Regions from separate parts of the Homo sapiens genome. Here region 2 is linked to region 1. The links are contacts of gene promoters, found by promoter capture Hi-C in human tissues and cell types (Jung and others, 2019). All regions are on one chromosome and are shown on one strand. Each heading gives the region's core, a stretch centred on a gene start or on the middle of the fragment in contact. The rest is flanking DNA. Distances are from core to core; before and after follow the strand shown. Region 1 holds the start of LOC124904737 (a long non-coding RNA gene). Region 2 holds the start of DHDH (dihydrodiol dehydrogenase).

Region 1 (7,640 bases), core at 2,327-4,826:
CAGTGAACCAAGATAATGCCACTGCACTCCAGTCTGATGACAGAGTGAGAGACCCTGTCTCAAAAAAGAAAAAAAAAAAAGAGATTAAAAAAAAAAGGTTTCATTTGAATTGTTCATTCCTTGGAGGCAGGAATACCAGGTGAATCTATTGTAGGAATTCATTTGGTTTGCCGATTCATGGAGTGGCTGTGAAGTGAAAGTTCACTGTAGGTGCCAAGAAAGCATCCCTTCCTGGGTTAGGGAGCAGGAGAGCCCATTGTAGAAAGGGGGCTTTTATTTTGGGTCATCCCATTCCTTCAGACAGGAATGAAGAACAGGAGAGTCTACCTTCAGAAGGTGGTAAGACTGGAAAGACCCATTTTTCTACAAGGGTAGATGAGCAAATCTTTTGGAGGTAGGAGTCTTTTTGGAAACACCCATTCATGGGGTAGGGGTAATGGTAGAATTTAGTGTAGAAGGGGGATCTATGCATATCAAGATGCCTGTTGTCTCAGACATGGTTGGCGAATGGAAGGGGGTCAGATTGAGTGGTTCTACATTTATGGAATGGAGATGAGAGTCCATTTTTTAGGACGAGGTCTTCTGGAATGCCTGTCTTCATTTGATAAATGAGATGGAACACTCCATGGTAAGAGGTTGTCCGTGAAGGCATTTATTTATCCGTGGAATGACCAGAAGAGCCCACTGTATGGAGATCTTTTTGGAGATGTCCTTTTTGGGGATTGGAATATTGAGAACGTCCATTGATGGAAGGGGGGTTATCTCTTTGAAATCCTCCGTTGGGGGAGTGGGAGTAATAGGTGAGTCCATTGTAGGAGTCCATTGTAGGAATATTGAGAACATCCATTGATGGAAGGGGGATTATCTCTTTGAAATCCTCTGTTAGGGGGGTGGGAATAATAGGTGAGTCCATTGCAGGACTTAACTCCTGCAACCTCCACCTCCCAGGTTCAAGCGATTTTCCCGCCTCAGCCTCCCGAGTAGCTGGGATTATAGGCATGAGCCACCTCACCTGGCTAATTTTGTATTTTTAGTAGAGAGAGGGTTTCTCCACGTTGGTCAGGCTGGTCTCGAACTCCCTACCTCAGGTGATCTGCCGGCCTTGGTCTCCACTGCGCCCGGCCTCTTTTTTTTGAGTCTCACTCTGTTGCCCAGGCTGGAGTGCAGTAGCCTGATCTTGGCTCATTGCAACCTCTGCCTCCTGGGTTCAAGCGATTCTTGTGCCTCAGCCTCCCAAGTAGCTGGGACTACAGTCATGCGCCACCATGCCTGGCTAATTTTTGTATTTTTAGTAGAGACAGGTTTCACCGTGTCTGGTCTTGAACTCTTGACCTCAGGTGATTCACCTGCCTCGGCCTCCCAAAGTGCTGGGATTGCAGGTGTCAGCCACTATGCCCAGTCCAAGGGAATCTCTTTAAAAGTACCCATTCATTGCTTGAGGAATATTGAGAAAAACTATTATTGGAAGGGGAAATATATCTGGAAGCCTTTACCATGGTGGGGTGGGGGTGAAATAATGGACAGGTGGGACCAGGGATGGGGAAAAGGAGATTTCCTTGGAAAGGTCCATTCTTTGAGGGTGAGGGTAGTTGCACAGTTCATTTTAGAAATAGGGATCTCCTTGAAAGCATCTAATGCTTGAGGGAAAGAAATGGTAGAGCCCATGTTAAGAAATGGGTCTCTGGCTGGGTGTGGTGGCTCACACCTGTAATCCCAGCACTTTAGGAGGCCAAGGCAGGCGGATCACAAGGTCAAGAGATCGAGACCATCCTGGCCAACATGGTGACCCTGTCCCTACTAAAAATACAAAAATTAGCTGGGCGTGATGGTGCGCGCCTGTAGTCTCAACTACTCGGGAGGTTGAGGCAGGGGAATCGCTTGAACCCGGGAGGCGGAGGTTGGAGTGAGCCGAGATCGTGCCACTGCACTCCAGCCTGGCAACAGAGCGTGACTCTGTCTCAAAGAAAAAAAGGGGGGTCTCCTTGTACATAGCCGGTCTTCGGGATGGGTGTTATGGGACCATCCACCATACAAAGTGCCTGGGAAGAGTCCACTCAGTGGCGTTGCGGGTGCTTAGAGAGTCCTTTGAGATCCAGATCTCCTTGGAGTGTCTATTCAAAGTCGGTGGGGGGCCGGGCGCGATAGTTCACGCCTGTAATCCCAGCACTTCGGGAGGCCGAGGTAGGTGGATCACCTGAGATCAGGAGTTTAAGACCAGCCTGGCCAACATGGTGAAACCCTTTCCCTACTAAAAATACAAAAATTAGCCGGGTGTGGTGGCAGGCGCCTGTACTCCCAGCTACTCAACAGACTGAGGCAGGAGAATTGCTTGAACTCAGGAGGCAGAGGTTGCAGTGAGCCGAGATCGTGCCACTGGACTCCAGCCTGGAGGACAGAGCGAGACTCCATCTCAAAAAAAAAAAAAAAAAAAAAAAGAAGAAGAAGGAAAAAAAAAGTTGGTGGGAATAGAAAAGTTGTTGTAGAAAACAGAGAGAACAGATCTGAAGATATGGATTGAAGTGATGTCCTTAGTGCATCCTCGTTTCCCCTCCAGGACTTTGTGGTGTATGTGATGACGCGAGAGCAGCACGTGTTTGGGCGAGGTGGGAACTCGTCTGGCCGCGGGGGGTCCCCGGCTCCCTATGTGGACACCTTCCTCAACGCCCCGGACATCCTGCCGCGTCACTGCACAGTGCGCGCGGGCCCTGAGCACCCGGCCATGGTGCGCCCGTCCCGGGGCGCCCCAGTCACGCACAACGGGTGCCTCCTGCTGCGGGAGGCTGAGCTGCACCCGGGCGACCTCCTGGGGCTGGGCGAGCACTTCCTGTTCATGTACAAGGACCCCCGCACTGGGGGCTCGGGGCCTGCGAGGCCGCCGTGGCTGCCCGCGCGCCCCGGGGCCACGCCGCCAGGCCCTGGCTGGGCCTTCTCCTGTCGCCTGTGCGGCCGCGGCCTGCAGGAGCGCGGCGAGGCACTGGCCGCCTACCTGGACGGCCGTGAGCCAGTCCTGCGCTTCCGGCCGCGCGAGGAGGAGGCGCTGCTGGGCGAGATCGTGCGCGCCGCAGCCGCCGGCTCGGGAGACCTGCCGCCCCTCGGGCCCGCCACGCTGCTGGCGCTGTGCGTGCAGCATTCCGCCCGTGAGCTGGAGCTGGGCCACCTGCCACGACTGCTGGGCCGCCTGGCCCGGCTCATCAAGGAGGCCGTCTGGGTGAGCGCCCCCCAATCGCCGTCCAGCCCCACCAGCGCCCCAAGTCCCTTCTCCAGCCTCCCTTCCCTACCTTCAACCCTTTTCATAGCTGGGCTGGATACTACTGTTCCCATGACGCCTCGGGAAGGATTTGGGGTTTTGGGTTTTGTTTGTTTGTTTGTTTGCTTTTGTTTTTGAGACGGAGTCTCGCTCTGTTACCCAGGCTGGAGTGCAGTGGCGGTCTTGGTTCACTGCAACCTCTACCTCCGGGGTTCAAATGATTCTTCTGCCTCAGCCTCCCGAGTAGCTGGGATTGCAGGCGCCTGCCAGCACGCCCGGCTAATTTTTTGTATTTTTAGTAAGACGGGGTTTCACCATATTGGCCAGGCTTGTCTGGAACTCCTGACCTCGTGGTTCGCCCGCCTCGGCCTCCCAAAGTGCTGGGATTACAGGTGTGAGCCACCACACCCGGTGTTTTGGGGTTATTAAGCAAGGGGCCCCCCCATAGAATGCTGGGAGATGTAGATCCACTGCACTTAGAGGGAAGCCCAAACTCACCTTAGGAGAGCTCACCTAAGCACGAACTCACCTTAGGAAGAAACCATTATGGGAGATGGTGGGGGAGAGATCCCACTGGATGAGAAGTTGACAGAGATCAGTGTGAGAATTCACCGCAGCCCATTGGGCTTGGAGCTTGGATAGCAGTGAGCGAGTTCATTCTTGGAGGCGAGGAAGCACAAATCCACTGGACCTACAGATGGAAGTTCCAGAAAGAAACCATTCAGAGTGGGGGAAACGTTCCATCCTATTGAGCTAGGGCCTAACCAGAGAGGTTTAAGGAGTTTCTTGGGGGTAAAAATTGGAGAAGAGGACCTGAAGGAGCTAGATCACTCATAATCATAGGGTGTGTATGTTTTAAAAAGTAAGGAGAGACCATTCTAAAGCTTGTGGGATTAGAATTTGTCTCAAGAGCCAGGCGTGGTGGCTCATGCCTGTAATCCCGGCACTTTGGGAGGCCGAGGCGGGCAGATCACCTGAAGTCGGGAGATCGAGACCATCCTGGCTAACATGGTGAAACCCCGTCTCTACTAAAAATGCAAAAAATTAGCCGGGCATGGTAGCACATGCCTGTAATCCCAGCTACTTGGGAGGCTGAGGCAGGAGAATCACTTGAACCTGGGAGGCAGAGGTTGCAGTGAGCCAAAATTGAGCCATTGCACCCCAGCCTGGGCAACAACAGGGTAACTCCATCTCAAAAAAAAAAAAAAAAAAAAAGAATCCGTATGAAGAGTGAAGGCCGGTTGCAGTGGCTCATGCCTGTAATCCTAGTTCTTTGGGAGGCCAAGGTGGGAGGATCATTTGAGCTCAGGAGTTGGAGACCACCGGTGGCAACATAGTAAGACCCCATCTCTAAGAAAAGTAGGACCAGTCTCTATGAGAGTTGTGCTTCTATAAAAACCAGGGTATTAACTCTTAAGCCCCTCAGTGGATCCCCCTCACCTTGATTCTGATCTTACTGTTCCACAGGAAAAGATTAAGGAAATTGGAGACCGTCAGCCAGAAAAGTAAGAGAAATTCTGAGCAGAGTGGTCTGGAGGGATGCAGGGGTTGGGTTTTGCGTCTAGTTCTGTGTTCACCCCATGCATGCCCCAGTGCAAGTTTCTGCTTCTCCTTGCGCTCAACTTTTCCAGCTGCGCAATGGGAGTTGGTCTTGCTCTCCCACTTAGACTTAGATCTTGGGGTTTGTAAACTATGATGAGGGTTGGGCAGGGATCACAAATTCCTTCCTCTTTTTCAAGCCACCCTGAGGGGGTCCCCGAGGTGCCCCTGACTCCTGAAGCTGTGTCTGTGGAGCTGCGGCCACTCATGCTGTGGATGGCCAACACCACGGAGCTGCTTAGCTTTGTGCAGGAGAAGGTGCTGGAAATGGAGAAGGAGGCTGACCAAGAGGGTGAGCTCTGACTCAGGCTCAGGCTTGTCCAAGTCTCCCATCATGCCCTGCACCTGGGGACCTGGGCTCCTGGCTGCCGACTTCTGGTTCTCCCTCTTAACCCCAAGCCTGTCCTCAGACCCACAGCTCTGCAATGACTTGGAATTATGTGATGAGGCCATGGCCCTCCTGGATGAGGTCATCATGTGTACCTTCCAGCAGTCTGTCTACTACCTCACCAAGGTTGGCCCTTGCCTCTTACTTCCTGTTTGACATAGCATCACTTCCTGTTTCACGTAATATCACTTCCTGTTTGTGGTAACATCACTTCTTGTTTGAACTACACTGTGTGGCTCTGATGTCACTATTTGACTCAAGATTTTCTGCTTTTCTCTGACATGACATCCCATCTCACCCAAGGACTTTGCTGTTCTGACACCACTTGTTAGAGCTTACATCACTTCCTGCCTTTCTGGCTTCTTTTCCTTTGTAATCATCACCTGGGCAAACGCGGTGGCTCACATCTGTAATCCCGGCACTTTGGGAGGTCAAGGCGGGTGGATCACTTGAGGTCAGGAGTTTGAGAGCAGCCTGGCCAACATGGTGAAACCCCATCTCTACTAAAAATACAAAATTAGCCAGGCATGGTGGCCTGCGCCTATAATCCCAGCTATTGGAGAGGCTGAGGCACAAGAATCACTTGAACCTGGGAGGCGGATGTTGCAGTGAACCAAGATTACTTCATGCCACTGCATTCCAACCCGGGAGATGGAGCGAGACTCTGTCTCAAAAGAGTAATATAACGCCGGATGCAGTGGCTCACGCCTGTAATCCCAGCACTTTGGGAGGCCAAGGTGGGCAGACCGCGAGGTCAGGAGTTTGAGACCAGACTGACCAACATGGTAAAACCCCGTCTCTACTAAAAATACAAAAATTAGCTGGGTATGGTAGCGCGTGCCTGCAATCCCAGCTACTCAGGAGGCTGAGGGAGGAGAATCGCTTGAACCCGGGAGGCGGAGGTTGCAGTGAGCTGAAATCGCACCATTGCACTCCAGGGCGACAGAGACAGACTCCATCTCAAAAAAGTAAAATAAAATTAAACGAAATAAAAAAAAAAGTAATCATCACCACTTTTGACAGGCTGACCTCACTACTTGGTAACATCACCATTACCACCTTCTGAATCTCCCACTTTCTAAGTCTACTCTTCAGTCACTGTTAAGTTTCATATATAATAGATAGATAAATGATTGATAGATAGCTAGAGATCAAATAGTGCCAGGAACTGTGATTTAAACTGAAGATCCTCTTTCATCAGGCCCCACTTCCTTCGCTTGCTGACCTCACTTCCTACAGCTCTGAATTCACTTCCCTTTCAGAACGACAGATCTTTTTCTCTGAGTGCCCTTCCTGGAAGGGCCTGCTTTCTGCCCCAGTTTCCCCCCCATTACCCTTGACCTTAACACCACTTCTTGGCATTCTCAGGGTTTCTGGCTTATGGTGGGCTTGATGCCCTATGTGCAAGAATGAGAGAGGATCTTTTGGGACAGCTAACTATCAGTCTCTAAGTTCCTCTAGCAGCCTGGATTGTGAAGCCCTTTCCTCCTTCACTTCCTGTACATTCCTGCCAAGTGTGCGTTTATTTCTTCTGTTTCTGACCTCATTTCCTGTCCTTGGCCTGATCTCATTTTCCACTGGCAAACTGCCATCCCACTCCCACTTCCTGACTCTCCATTCTTTTTCTTTCCTTTGGGAATTCAGGATGAATAATTCTTTGACTGAAAGGGAACTCTTTGTCCAGTATCCTTTGTCCTCCTTGAGCTGTCTCTGCTGAGAACTACAAGTCCCACAATGCACAAGAGGTGATCTTAAAATACTCGAGAAACTTGTATACCCTTCTATCAAGTAGGGATTTGCTCACGGAGACCCTTTGGGTGTTGACTGTAGAATGGACTACAACTCCCAGAAGACTTTGGTGGAGCTCCCCACTATCTTCATGCTCTATTACCCTGAAGCTTCCTGGGAGTTGTAGTCCAATCACTTGTTTCCACTTCTCTATTTTCTCAGACTCTCTATTCAACGCTGCCTGCTCTCCTGGATAGTAACCCTTTCACAGCTGGTGCAGAGCTGCCGGGGCCTGGCGCGGAGCTGGGGGCCATGCCTCCAGGATTGAGACCTACCCTGGGCGTGTTCCAGGCAGCCTTGGAGCTGACCAGCCAGTGCGAGCTGCACCCTGACCTCGTGTCTCAGACTTTTGGCTACTTGTTCTTCTTCTCCAACGCATCCCTTCTCAACTCGCTGATGGAACGAGGTGAAGGTTGGCTGGGAGCTGTCAGGGAGGCAAAGACAGGAGCCACTGAGACTCAGGTCATATTAGACACACCACGGGCTCAAGCCTCACCTTTGGGTACCCTGGAGAACAAGCTCCAGATCCCAGGCTGAAGGATAGGAAGAGTCTGGGAGGCAGGAGCACAGAGTCCAGCCAACCAACTGCCTCTCATACCTTTAACACCCACAGGTCAA
Region 2 (7,640 bases), core at 1-2,500, 210 kb before region 1:
GGGTGGAAGGGAGGCAAAGGAGGAGGCTCTGGCCAGGGGAAGGGGAGACGTGGTCCTGGGGGAAGAGATGACGGGGGCTGGACATTTGGGCCCTGGGAAAGAGAGATCTGGGGGAAAGCCGTTATTAAATCCCCCAATATTGAAATTATCTTCATAGTAGCTTACATCAAGGCCTTTCCAAACCTCAAGACACTCAGGTTTGTGTGGGGAAAAGAAAGAGAGATCAGATTGTTACTGTGTCTATGTAGAAAAGGAATCTGTATCATGAATAAGTTCAAGGAAAGGTGCTGTGACCGGATGTGCACGTAGGCTAGATTTATGTTTCACTTTACACAAACATCTCAGTGTAGCAAAGAGTAACAGAGCAGTATCACTGCCAGCATATCTCGCCTCCAGCCACAGGTAGGTTTTCTCCTATCTCAGAATAGAAGGAATGGGAATGGTCCGCTTTACACTGAGACAGTCCATTCCCAGGGAGAGCAGGAGACAGAAGCCTTCCTCTTATCTCAACTGCAGAGAGGCCTCCCTCTTTCACTACTCCTCCTCAGCACAGACCCTTTACTGGTGTCGGGCTAGGGGATGTAAGGTCTTCCTTTCCCACGAGGCCATATCTCAGGCTTTCTCAGTGGGGGGAAACCCTGGACAATACCCAGGCTTTCTTGGGCAGAGGTCCCTGCGGCTTTCCGCAGTGCAATGTGCCCCTGGTTAATAGAGAATGGAGAATGGCGATGACTTTTACCAAGCATACTGCCTGCAAACATATTGTTAACAAGGCACATCCTGCAAAGCCCTAAATCCATTAAACTTTGATTCAATACAGGACATGTTTCTGTGAGCACACGGTTGGGGCTAAAGTTACAGGTTAATAGCATCTCAAAGCAGAAACAATTTTTCTTAGTACAGTTCAAAATGGAGTTTCTTATGTCTTCATTTTCTACGTAGACACAGTAACAATCTGATCTTTCTTTTCCCCACAGGTTTGCAGAACAGAGATGGAGAAGGAGGTAGCAAGGAAACAGACGTTTCACTGCAATGACGACCCACTCACTAGTCCTGAACCCTAAACTCCCTCCTCCTTTAGACTCTGGAGTCCCGCCCCCCGCCTCCTCTTCCCCAGAATCCGGAGGGCGGGCAGACCTGGTGCTCAGAGCGAGGCAGCGTCTGCAGCACGGCTGTGAAGTCGCTGGAGATGAGGCCGACAGACACGATGCCCCAGCGCAGCGCCATGGTTGCGATGCGGAGCCCTCGGCACCTTCGGTCCCTCCAGGCGCGAATTAAGTACCTGACGCCCCGCCCACCCCGGGGGCGGGTCCCCATCCTCCGCCCGTATTGCGCCTACGCCGATTCTCGTTGGCTCCAGTCGGCAGAGCGGTCATTTAGTTCTAGCTTCCCCGCTGGGCGAATGCACCGTTTAGCTCCGCCTTACAGAGGGAACCACACCTTGACGTCGCTTCTACAGATCTCTTACCTATGACTTTAGGCTCGTCGGATACGCGGGGTAAGGACAGCGTGGGGAGGAGAGGTTTGCTTTCTTGCCAACACCAATCCTTGAGAGTTAGATTTAATGTCTTGCCCTCTGGACTTTGTGGCAAAACTTTGCCCTGACTTTTTTGCTCTCAAAGCCACGCATCATTAGGGGTTGTTCACAGAGAGAGAGAGGATTGTAACAGCAAACTTAATAATTATTACTAATATGTATAGAGCACCTGTAGACCAGCTCCTCAGCTCTGCGCTTTACCTTCTTCGTTCCTAATTTCTCCCCGCAGACCTGGGAAGTAGCTTCTATTGTCCCCAGTTCACAAAGGGGGAAACAGACTCCAAGATCCCTGGTCATTTTTTGGAGGTCTCACAGTCAGGAGGTAAAGACCTGTGAATTGGCTGCTTCCAGAAGCTATAGTTTTAGAAACCAGGCTGCTTTGCTTGTTAGGAGCCCCAGAGCCTGGCCGACTGGTTTCAAAACCCTCCTTGCCCCTTCTTGGCTGTATTGCTTTTGGACAAGAGGTCGCCCTCTCTGGTCCTCACTTTTCTATTCTGGAAAGCAGAGATCATGATAACATCTACCTACATAGGGTTGTGAGGAGGATTCATTGAGCTCTATGGTCTATTATGTAAAATATACTGTATTATTATAATTATTATTGATATAGGGTCTCGCTCTGTCGCCCAGGAAGGAGTGCAGTGGCACAATCATAGCTCACTGCAGCCTCAAATTCCTTAGCTCAAGGAATTAGCTCCTGCCTTAGCCACCCTAGTACCTGGGACTACAGTAGCTGGGACCCAAAGTAGCTACTGGCTACTACACCTGGCTAATTATTTTGTTTTATTTATTAATTATTTTAGAGATAGGGTCTCACTCTGTTACCTAGCTGGACTGCAGTGGCGTGATAATAGCTCACAGCAGCCTTGTACTCCTGGGCTCAAGCTATCTTCCCGCCTCAGCCTCCTGAGTAGCTGGGAGTATAGGCATGTGCCCCACTTACCGCTATTTGTTTGTTTGTTTGTTTGAGACGGAGTCTCACTCTATCCCCAGGCTGGAGTGCAGTGGTGTGATCTCAGCTCACTGCAACCTCCGCCTCCCTGGTTCAAGTGATTCTCCTGCCTCAGCCTCCTGAGTAGCTGGGACCACAGGCGCCCTCCACCATGCCCAGCTAATTTTTTTTATTTTTAGTGGAGACAGGGTTTCACCATGTTGGCCAGGATGGTCTCGATCTCCTGACCTTGCGATTTGCCTGCCTTGGCCTCCCAAAGTGCTGGGATTACAAGCATGAGCCACTGCACCCAGCCTGCTAATTTTTGTTGCTGTTGTTGTTTGTTTTTTGTTTTTGAGACGAAGTCTCGCTCTGTCATCCAGGCTGGGGTGATCATGCAGTGGCATAATCTTGGCTCACTGCAACCTCCACCTCCCAGTTTCAAGCAATTCTCCTACCTCAGCCTCCCGAGTAGCTGGGATGACAGGCGCCCACTACCACGCCCGACTAATTTTTGTATTTTTACTAGAGATGGGGTTTCACTGTGTTGGCCAGGCTGGCCTCGAATTCCTGACCTCAGGTGATCCGCCTGCCTTGGCCTCCCAAAGTGCTGAGATTACCTGCATGAGCCACCATGCCCAGCAATTTTTTGTACAGAAAAGGTCTCACTTTGTTGTCCAGGCTGGTCTCCAATTCCTGGGCTCAAGCAATCCTCCTGCCTCAGCCTCCCAAAGTGCTGGGATTATAGGTATGAGACACTGTGTCCAGTCGATTTTTAAACTTTTTATCAAGGCAGGGTCTTGCCAAGTTTCCCAGGCTGGTTGGGACATGATAATTCCTAACTGGCTGGCCAGCTTCACACAGGGCAGGATATTGTCACTTTCTCTTACTTGGTAGACAATAATTAAGACCTGAGTGTCACACATGGATTCACAGACTTCAAGTTTACACAAACTGCTGAATAGAAACACAAATGGGACCAGGCACGGTGGTTCACGCCTGTAATCCCAGTACTGTGGGAGGCCCAAATGGGAGGAATGCTTGAAGCCAGGACTTTGAGACCAGCCTGGGCAACAAAGCAAGACCCCATCTCTACCAAAAAAAAAAAGTGGGGGGAGGGGGCAGGGCATAGTGGCTCATGCCTGTAATCCTAGCACTTTGGGAGGCCGTGGTGGGCGGATCACTTAAGGTCAGGAGTTCGAAACCAGCCTGGCAAACATGGTGAAACCCCCATCTCTACTAAAAATACAAAATAATTAGCCAAGCATGGTGGCGGACGCCTGCAATCCCAGCTTCTTGGGAGGCTGAGGCAGGTAAATTGCTTGAACCTGGGAGGAGGAGGTTGCAGTGAGCCAAGATCGCACCACTGCTCTCCAGCCCGGGTGACAGAGAGAGACTCTGTCTCAAAAAAAAAAAAAAAAAAAAAAAAAGGTTTAGGGGGAGGGAAATCCACATAGGACACAATATCATTACTATGAAGAAAAAGAAAAAATCATTTAATAATAAATATCAAAAAATAATTTTGATACTCCCAGGTATTTGTCCTAGAAAGAAAAAATAACATGTTTGCACACAAACCAGTGCACAGGTGTTAGCAGCTGTACATAGCTCAAGCCCAAATGTCCTTTAAGCTGCCAGTGGATTCAACAAAATACTACTCAGCGGCCAGGCACAGTGGCTCACACCTGTAATCCCAGCACTTTGGGAGGCCAAGATGGGTGGATCACCAGGTCAGGAGATCAAGACCATCCTGGCTAACACGGTGAAACCCCATCTCTACTAAAAATACAAAAAATTAGCCAGGCGTGGTGGCGGGCACCTGTAGTCTGGAGGCTGAGGCAGGAGAGTGGCGTGAGCCTGGGAGGCAGAGGTTACAGTGAGCCGAGATCACACCACTGCACCCCAGCCTGGGCAACAGAGGAAGACCCGGTCTAAAAAAAAAAATATATATATATAATATATATATATATTTTTTTTTTGAGATGAAGGTTTGCTCTGTCACCCAGGCTGGAGTGCAGTGGTTCGATCTCAGCTCACTGCAAGCTCTGCCTCCCGGGTTCACGCCATTCTCCTGCCTCAGCCTCCCAAGTAACTGGGACTACAGGCGCCCACCACCACGCCTGGCTAATTTTTTGTATTTTTAGTAGAGACAGGGTTTCACTGTGTTAGCCAGGATGGTCTTGATCTCCTGACCTCGTGATCCGCCCTCCTCGGCCTCCCAAAGTGCTGGGATTACAGGCGTGAGCCACTGCGCCCGGCCTAAAATTATTACTTTCTTATTGCTGCACTCCAGCACCTCAGAGGAGGCAAAAAGGTAAACACTGAAAAGAAAATATGCCGGGCACGGTGGCACATGCCTGTAATCCCAGCACTTTGGGAGACTGTGGCGGGCAGATCTCTTGAGCCCAAGAGTTCGAGACCAACCTGCAAAAAATTAGCCAGGTGTGGTGGTGTGCATCTGTATTCCCAGCTACTAGGGAGGCTGAAGCGGGAGGATCGCTTGAGCTGGGAAGGTTGAGGCTGCAGTAAGCTATGATGGCACCTCTGTACTCCAGCCTGGGCAACAGAGTGAGACTCTGTCTCAAAAAAGAAAAAAGAGGGCGGGCGTAGTGGCTCACGCCTGTAATCCCAGCACTTTGGGAGGCCGAGGCGGGCGGATCACCTGAGGTCAAGAGTTTGAGACCAGCCTGGCCAACAGGGTGAAACCCCATCTCTACTAAAAATACAAAAATTAGCTGGGCGTGGTGGTGTGCACCTGTAATCCCAGCTACTTGGGAGGCTGAGGCACTGGAATCGCTTGAACCCAGGAGGCAGAGCTTGCAGTGAGCCGAGATCACGCCACTGCACTCTAGCCCGGGCAACAGAGTGAGACTCTGTTGCCCAGGAAAAAAAAGAAAAAAAAAAAAAAGAAAAAGAAAAAAGAAGAAAAAGAAAATGCTGTGGGGCGCTGCCATGTGGAAAGACATTTGGGAAAGGCTAAAAGAACCCACTGCACACTTAATGGTATATCACATGTCAGTACCCGGTCAGACTCGCCTCTGGTAACATGGAGGTAGACACTCTAGCAAGAATTAGAACACTGGGTCCCTCACAATCCTCAAGGGCTTGGAGCAACTCAGTATTGTGTATAGACTGCAGATTTCCCTTACCATATAATCTTCAAGTGGCAGGATTGATTAAAAAGAAAAATGGCCAGGCGCGGTGGCTTACGCTTGTAATCCCAGCACTTTGGGAGGCCGAGGTGGTCGGATCACGAGGACAGGAGATCAAGACCATCCTGGCTAACACAGTGAAACCCCATCTCTACTAAAAATACAAAAAATTAGCCGGGCATGGTGGCGGGCGCCTGTAGTCCCAGCTACTCAGGAGGCTGAGGCAGGAGGATGGCGTGAACCCGGGAGGCAGAGCTTGCAGTGAGCCGAGATCACGCCACTGCACTCCAGCCTGGGTGACACAGCAAGACTCTGCCTCAAAAAAAAAAAGAAAGAAAGAAAGAAAGAAAAATGGCATTTAAAAAAATTTTTTTGCAGGTTTTATTTATTTATTTATTTATTTGAGACAAAGTCTGGCTCTGTTGCTCCAGCCTGGGTGACAGCGCCACACTCCGTCTCAAAAAAAAAACAGAAAATAAAATTTTTTTTTGTAGAGATGGTGTCTCACCATGTTGCCTAGGCTGGCCTCCAACTCTTGGGCTGAAGTGATCCTCCCACCTCGGCCTCCCAAAGCACTAGGCATGAGCCACCAAGCCTGGCCCAACTATCCATTATGCATAGTTGTAAAGCAAGTCTGGCCAGACGCATTTATACTGGAGCTGATAAAAGGCCAATGGTAAACACTATTTAGGATTTCCCAGAATCTTGAGCCAAGGGGAGGGGTTGGACTGGCAAATTCCCCAGACTGGATAGGGTGTTTCTTGTCAGAGGGCAAGAATTTCTCGGGCAGCTGCAGTGGTCTCCCTTGATCCTCTTGGGGTTGGGGCCAAAACAATCCACTTACCCCTACACTAGAACATGGTCCCTTTTTTTTTTTTTTTTTTTTTGGACGGAGTCTTGCTCTGTCACCCAGGCTGGAGTGCAGTGACACAATTTCAGCTCACTGCAACTTCCGCCTCCTGGGTTCAAGCGATTCTCCTGCCTCATGAGTAGCTGGGATTACAGGCGCCCATCACCACACCCAGCTAATTTTGTATTTTTAGTAGAAATGCGGTTTTACCATGTTGGCCGGGCTGGTCTCGAACTCGTGACCTCAAGTGATCCACCTGCTGCGGCCTCCCAAATTGCTGGGTTATAAGCGTGAGCCATTGTTCACAGGCTGAGTGACGTAGTTTAATGTTATTTATTTATTTATTTTTTAAGACGGAGTTTTGCTTTTGTTGTCCAGGCTGGAGTGCAATGGCGTGATCTCGGCTCACCGCAACCTCCACCTCCTGGGTTCAAGCGATTCTCCTGCCTCAGCCTCCTGAGCAGCTGGGATTACAGGCATGCGCCACCAGGCCCGGGTAATTTTGTATTTTCAGTAGAGACGGGGTTTCTCAACGTAGGTCAGGCTGGTCTCAGACTCCTGACCTCGGGTGATTCGCCTGCCTCAGCATCCCAAAGTGCTGAGATTACAGGCGTGAGCCACCGCGCCCAGCCTCGTGACTTTATTTTAAAATGCTACTCTGCCATGTGATTTTTTTCCTTTTTTAAGAGACGGGGTTTGTAATCTCAGCTACTTGGGAGGCTGAGGCAGGAGAATTGCTTGAACCCGGGAGGTGGAGGTTGCAGTGAGCCGAGACTGTGCCATTGCACTCCAGCCTGGGGGACACAGCAAGACTCCGTATCAAAAAAAAAAAAAAAAGAAAAAGAAAGAAACAGGGTTGGCTGGGCGTGGTGGCTCATGCCTATAATCCCAGCACTTTGGGAGGCAGAGGAGGGCAGATCACCTGAGGACAGGAGTTTGAGACCGGCCTGGCCAACATGGCGAAACCCTGTCTCTACTAAAAATACAAAAATTAGCTGGGCGTGGTGGGCGCCTGTAATCCCAGTTACTCAGGAGGCTGAGGCAGGAGAATCACTTGAACCCGGGAGGCGGAGGTTGCAGTGAGCCGAGATCGAGCCACCGGCAACAAGAGTGAGACTCTGTCTCAAAAAAAAAAAAAAAGAGACGGGGTTTCACTATGTTGCTCAGGCT

The links. The method cuts DNA at HindIII sites, captures the fragments that hold promoters and counts their contacts. A contact is called where the count stands out against the background at its distance.
Region 2: the fragment with the promoter of DHDH here is called in contact with a fragment that was not itself captured in region 1 in 2 of the 25 tissues and cell types used here (dorsolateral prefrontal cortex and pancreas).

What each region holds. Positions count from the first base shown.
Region 1 is chr19:48,724,505-48,732,144 of GRCh38, reverse strand. It overlaps RASIP1 (Ras interacting protein 1), which reads left to right. Exons shown (of 12, transcript NM_017805.3): 5 at 2,555-3,208; 6 at 4,715-4,752; 7 at 4,987-5,138; 8 at 5,257-5,360; 9 at 7,185-7,428; 10 at 7,636-7,640. It overlaps LOC124904737 (a long non-coding RNA gene), which reads right to left and starts at 4,001. Exons shown (of 2, transcript XR_007067286.1): 1 at 3,777-4,001; 2 at 630-879. The HindIII fragment of the contact is 9,581 bases long and covers 1-7,640 here.
Region 2 is chr19:48,927,309-48,934,948 of GRCh38, reverse strand. DHDH (dihydrodiol dehydrogenase) reads right to left here and starts at 1,250. Exons shown (of 7, transcript NM_014475.4): 1 at 1,138-1,250. The coding sequence starts at 1,227. RefSeq lists an enhancer at 1,176-1,677. The HindIII fragment of the contact is 30,682 bases long and covers 1-7,640 here.